2 separate regions of the Homo sapiens genome follow, and region 1 is linked to region 2. Evidence: promoter capture Hi-C in human tissues and cell types (Jung and others, 2019). All regions are on one chromosome and are shown on one strand. Each heading gives the region's core, a stretch centred on a gene start or on the middle of the fragment in contact. The rest is flanking DNA. Distances are from core to core; before and after follow the strand shown.

Region 1 (3,145 bases), core at 121-2,620, 1.5 Mb after region 2:
AAGTCGATGAATAGATTTTTTCAGGATATGATTTATGACCGAAGTCCTACAAACTGTGTTTTTCTTTGCCAAATAATTCCTTTCAAGTGCTATTTTTTTAGAATTATGTAATGTCTCTTTTTTTATGCCAGAAAAATAGCCAGGATATGAATTTGACATCACATGCATGGTGAGAGCATGGAAAAGATTCTGAGAATGCTATTTACTTCCAAACAAAAGGTCACAGAATTAATTCTGCAAGTCAACATTTGAAACTGGCTGTCTGAGAGCCTTGGATATTTGGAAAATTAATGTGTGTACATTCAAAATATATGTGTGCATACACTTCTAATAAGCCCTTTCACAAGGCAAAAAACATTGTGTCTACCTAATTTTAAAATTGCCTTTTTAAGAGAGAACTTTGTAAAATTACACAATCATACTTAACCTAGCTGAGCCAGGAGAAAAATTCCTTTTGAATGTTGAACTCCATGAATTATTCTAGTGTGTTATGGACTCTGACTCGAATGAATTACCAGATTATCCTCCTAAGACTCTTAAAATTCAGCAGCTTCACTGTCTCTCCATTTATGTGTCCCAAATTATGTTAATTGGACCTAACTCACCAAGCATACTCTCTGTAGACTATACATCATTCTAACTTTATGTCTATGGTCTACATAAAAATGTCAGCTTGACGAATGTGGTTATATTTAGTAGAGCTGCAGACTATTTTTTGTTAAAGCTTAAATAGTTCTTTTTTATTCCTTTCTTCTTTCTTTTTCCTTCCTTCCTTTCCTTCTTTCTTTCCTCCCTCCTTTCTTTGTTTCTTTGTTTCTTCTTTCTTTCCTTCTTTCTTTTTCTTTCTTTCTCTCTCTTTCTCTCTCTCTCTCTCCCTCCCTCCCTCCCTTCCTTCCTGCATGCCTTCCTTTCTTTTTTTTTTTTTTAAGAGACAAGATCTTGCTCTGTCACCCAGGCTATAGTTCAGCAGTGTGAGCCTAGCTCACTGCAGTCTCGACCTCCTGGGCTCAAGCCATACTCTCACCTCAGCTTCCTGAGTAGCCAGGATTACAGGTGCACAAGCCATACCTGGCTAATTTAAAATATATATATATATATATTTGTAGAGATAGAGTATTTTTATGTTGCCCAGGATGATCACAAACTACTGGGCTCAAGCGATCCTCTCTTCTTAGCCTCCCAAAGCGCTGGAATTACAGGCGTAAGACACCACGCCTGGCTAAATAGTTCTTAATATGTAATTTAATTTAGTCATCTTTGTGCCCACACTATAGAATTTGGCAGATGAGTAAATGAAGGAGTCTAGGAGTGGCTGAATATACTAATAATCACTAACAACCACTGTTTGTTGAGTGTTTGCTATGGCTTAAGCACTTGTCTAAGCACTTATGTGTGTTAACGCATGTACTGCTCATAGCAACTCTCTGGAGTAGGTACTATTGTTATCTTCATTTTAAAGATGAGAAAACTGCAATATAGGGGATTTGAAGTAATCTGCCTAGGGTCACGAAGTTTAAGTAAACTAATCCACCTAGGGTGCTCATGAAGACACTGAATTTCAATGGGAATATTCTCAGTGCAAGAGGCTTGCTAAAGAGTTCTCAGAAAAGAACTTCATTTGAATAAACTTGAGTGGATCTCACCATCTCTTCCTCAGGTGTAGGAACCAGAAAAACTACCCTGAAGAGATCTGGGTAGAATGCTTTTCCAGCAAAAAGTATTCAAAGGTGATGAATTTTCTGGAATGTCAACATACTAATTCTCTCTGGAAGTTGGAGGAGAGCCTTTCCAATGAGCGGAATACTGGTATACAGCATCTAGGTTATCCTTTGTGTGAAGCCAAATCAGAAGTTTGTTTGATGAGCATAGAATCAGATCATGAATATTCTAGAGGGCTATTTCCTGACCCTGATGATTCCCTTATCCCACACCGGGGAACATGAGGCCGAACTTTTCAAGTCCTCCAGATTCACTTTACTAAATACACTGCTGAATGTTCACTGACAACATCAGGGTCGTTAGAATGATGACTGAACGTTACATATGATTGCTCCTCTCCACCCTGCTTTTCCACGTTTAGAACTCTAATGCCTCTGGAATATAGCATGTGATTTGCAAGGAAAGATACCTTTTGACGTTTGGCATTAATTTTATAGGATCCACTCTTGAATTTCTCTTTTGAGGATGTCGTCTTGGAATACAGACATTTTCTAGACATCCACAGCCCTTTCTAATTGAATAAATAAACATATAGATATATAAATATGACGGGATGCTTATATTTAGGTTAGTGCAAAAGTAATTGCTGTTTTGCCAGCACTTTTAATGGCAAAACCCACGATTACTTTAGCACCAGCCTAAGATATGCAATTATCCAACCCCCAGCCCACCAAAGCCAGATTTGTATATAAGGGCATAGCTATTTTATAGTAAGTAGGATACATAAGCTGGAGAAATTTTTACTTAAATCTGAGTTAGTCACCAGCAAAGCAACATTGTTTCTCCTGTACAATAGAATATTAATATAATGTCATAAATTTCCTTTAAAAATAATTACTTTGACTTTCAGATTAACATTAACACTTTCCTGTCCAATGGATCTCAAGAATTTTCCCATGGATGTACAAACATGTATAATGCAACTGGAAAGCTGTAAGTATGAACCACTTACTTTTTAAAATACTTTTACATTATAGTAGATACAAGCTTTTAATGCCTAATATGGATAATTTATTTTGTAATCATTTTGGTCACATATTTACTGAATAGGCATGTAACCTTTCACCAGGTACTGAAAATAATGATACCTATCAACACATGCACTCCACACTATGAGAAAGAAACAAATTGAGGATCTAAAAATAACAGATTTTCAAAGCTTGATATTTAGATATGTGTTTCCATACACATCATCAGAAGTGAAAAGGATGGTAATCATTAAAAACAAACTATCACTTATTTATTGGGAGCCTCTTCTCAACGAAGTGTCTATATATATTTTTTCTTATACTGACAACAAAGATATTGTTATCCCTACGTTTTCAAATGTGAAAGTGGTCATGTTGAATGGTTGAGTATTCGGCTCCAACTCACAAAGGTGACAGTGACAAACTGCCTCCAAACCTATGCTGCTTCAGATAAGCAA
Region 2 (3,112 bases), core at 406-2,905:
AATCAGCTTAAAATACCACCTTCTAAGATCCAAATTAATGGTCATCTCTTTTGAGAGGACTTCTTACACTCTCCCAGGCCAAAGTATTTGCTTCCTTTCTGGTGCTAACATATTTTTACCATGGCAGAGCTTTTCAGTGTATGTAATCTTTTCACTGATATTTCTATCTCTGAATCTCTTATAAATGATCTGCCGCACAGAGCTGTCCAATCGAAATTCCTGTAGTGATGGAACAGTGCTGTGTCTGTCCTACCCAACATGGCAGCCACTAGCTACATATGGCTATTGAGCAGGTAAAATGTAGCCAGTGGAACTGAGTTTATTTAAATTTAAGTTTAAATAGCCACATGTGGCTAGTGGCTACCATATTGGATGGTAAAGATCTAGCACATACTCCAGGATAGTTCCTCAGAAAAGGTTTACAGAATGAATGAATCATTCATTAAAACTTTTTTAGCCTAACAGAAAACACTTACATAGCTTCAGTTTTGGTTTTCTTTTTTAACCACATACAGAATACACTGGTTTACTTTATTAATAAGCATGTATATGAATAAACATTAAAAATATTACATAGTATCATTATCAAGATCTATCCCATATTTTACCATGTGTATGTATCCACAGGGCCTGTCACCTGGCTCTCTGCAGCCTCAAGTTCCTGAGCTCAAGCAATCCTCCCACCTCAGCATCTGGAGTACTTGAGAGTACAGGTGTGCACCACCACACCCAGCTATTTTGTTTGTTTGTTTGTTTTGTAGCGAAAGTCTCTCCACCTTGTGTTGCCCAGGCTGGTCTTGAACTCCTGAGCTCAAACGATCCTCCCGCCTCCACCACCCAAAGTGCTGGGATTACAGGCATGACCCACTGTGCCCTGCCAAGCAAAAAAAAACAAAAAACAAAAAACAAAAAACAAAAAACTGTGGCTGTAAAAATTTTTAATGGATTTTAATAATTAAGCTTACATATTTATAATTGCCTATGCCAACTTTGCAGTTGTTTTCATTGTGTTCAGATAGATCCCAAGTGACTAGATGAATGCGTGGCACATAATATGGACTCAATACATATTTGTTGAATTAATGAAGGAATTATGCCTACTAGGAGATTTTAATTAAGTGTGAAAATCTAACCTACACATCGTTTTCAAATATTAATGTTTACAAATACTTAATGCAATAATTAAGGAAATAGTTATGTTAAATTTTGTGGACATTCATTTCCATTTCAAAGATTTTTTTCCCCCATCTCTTCCAATTCCCAAACAAAAACTGTCCTTGGCCTCTGGAGTCTTCTCACACCACTCCTCAAACTAGACGACTGAAAATAGGCCTTTGGCTGGGCAGAAACCAACAATATTTAAAATACAAAACTTATGAACGATGACATAAGAAAAAAAAAGCTCTAAATAGGTTAACAGTGAGGCCAACTAAATCTGAGACTGAAAGCGCTCCCCAGACCGCAGCCACACCACTGGGACCCCAGCTTTGCCTCCCTCGATACCCGGCCCCGCGGTCCAAAATCTGAGTAAAGCGGAAGTACGGGCGGCTGCTGCGGCGCTTGCGCAGGCGCTGAGGTCTCGCCCCATAAGACTCCGCCCCGCCCCACGAGACCGCGCCGCCAGCAATAAGGCCCAGCCCCGCCTTCTGCTGTTGCCGCAGCAACCCAGAAAGCGTCATGGCTGCCGCCGGCCAGGAAAAAGGGTATTTGACACAGACTGCGGCAGCCCTAGACAAGTCACCGTCACTTTCGCCACAGCTAGCAGCTCCCATCCGAGGGAGGCCTAAGAAGTGTCTGGTCTATCCGCATGCGCCGAAGAGCTCCCGCTTGTCTCGTTCCGTTCTGCGTTGGCTTCAGGGTCTGGATCTCAGCTTCTTCCCCAGGAACATCAACAGGTGCTTGAGTAAGCCAGTCCTAGGCCCCCCCGGTGGGCGCCCCGCCTGCTTTCCGCCGCCTGCCAGGCCTCAGATTGCCTACCCTGGCCTGGCTTATGTTTCAAATCAAGACCCCCCCACCCACGTACACACACGAAAACACTATTAGGGAACAAGGCTTTAACAAAATACCACGATACATCTTGTTTATTCAATTAATCAACCAATCATTAAATTGTGGACAATATAGAATGCTTTGGTGACTACAAAAATATTAAAATAGTCAAAGCTTTTTCTTTAGTGATATTGGGCATTAATACTGGTAAGGACGGCCGGGCACAGTTGCTCATGCCTGTAATCCCAGCATTTTGGGAGCCGAGGCAGGCGGATCACCTGAGGTCAGGAGTTGAGTAACAGCCTGACCAACACGGTGAAACCCCGTCTCTACTAAAAAATACAAAAAATTAGCCCAGTGTGGTGGCGGGTGCCTGTAATCCCAGCTACTGGGGAGGCTGCAGGCAGGAGAATGCTTGAACCCGGGAGGCGGAGGTTGCTGTGAGTCGAGATTATGCCGCTGCACTCCAGCCTAGGTGGCAGGGTAAGACTCTGTCTCAAAAAAAAAAAAAAAAAAAAAAAAAAAAAATACTGGTAAGGATCAGTTTACCCTTTGTCGGAGATGGCATCTAGTTTGAGAGTTACCAACAAGTTTTTAAAGTTGCTGCTTAATTGTAGGCACTTTGTATGTAACTGGCAGCTAATATTTGCTCTGGGAATGCAAACTAAATTCTATAAAAAGGCAATGAATCTTTTGCAGAACTCTGGTTTAAAGTAGTCTCTCCTTATCAGAGAGGCATAGGTTCCAAGATCCCCAGTGGATGGCAACTGTGGATACTACAGAACCCTCTGTCAGAACACATTTCTGTTTATGTCTTCCATCCACAAATTTAATGCCTTTTTAAAAATCTTAACTAAGCACTTATCACACACTGTGGCTGAAAGTTTTTCAGTTTGAGGTGTGATGCCGAAACTATCAAGAATTTCTTTTTCTTCATATTTCAGGAATATGATTCATTCCTACCATTGTAACCATTCTTACAACTTTCTATTAAGTCAAGAACTTTCATCTTTTCACCTAAAGGAATAATTTTATGGTTTCTCTCTGGCATATCTGAATCACCAGCATCACTGCTCTTGCACTTTGCACACAAGCGCACCACACTGTACAGTTGATCTGATGA

The links. Contacts are between HindIII fragments. The study calls those that stand out against the background at their distance.
Region 1: a contact is called between a fragment that was not itself captured here and the fragment with the promoter of SPATA4 in region 2, in 1 of the 25 tissues and cell types used here (dorsolateral prefrontal cortex).

The regions. Positions count from the first base shown.
Region 1 is chr4:174,714,995-174,718,139 of GRCh38, reverse strand. GLRA3 (glycine receptor alpha 3) reads left to right here. Exons shown (of 10, transcript NM_006529.4): 5 at 2,570-2,652. Among named protein-coding and RNA genes, the nearest start is that of GLRA3, 110 kb to the left of the region's middle. The HindIII fragment of the contact is 5,278 bases long and covers 1-3,145 here.
Region 2 is chr4:176,194,128-176,197,239 of GRCh38, reverse strand. SPATA4 (spermatogenesis associated 4) reads left to right here and starts at 1,655. Exons shown (of 6, transcript NM_144644.4): 1 at 1,655-1,895. The coding sequence starts at 1,678. The HindIII fragment of the contact is 4,035 bases long and covers 475-3,112 here.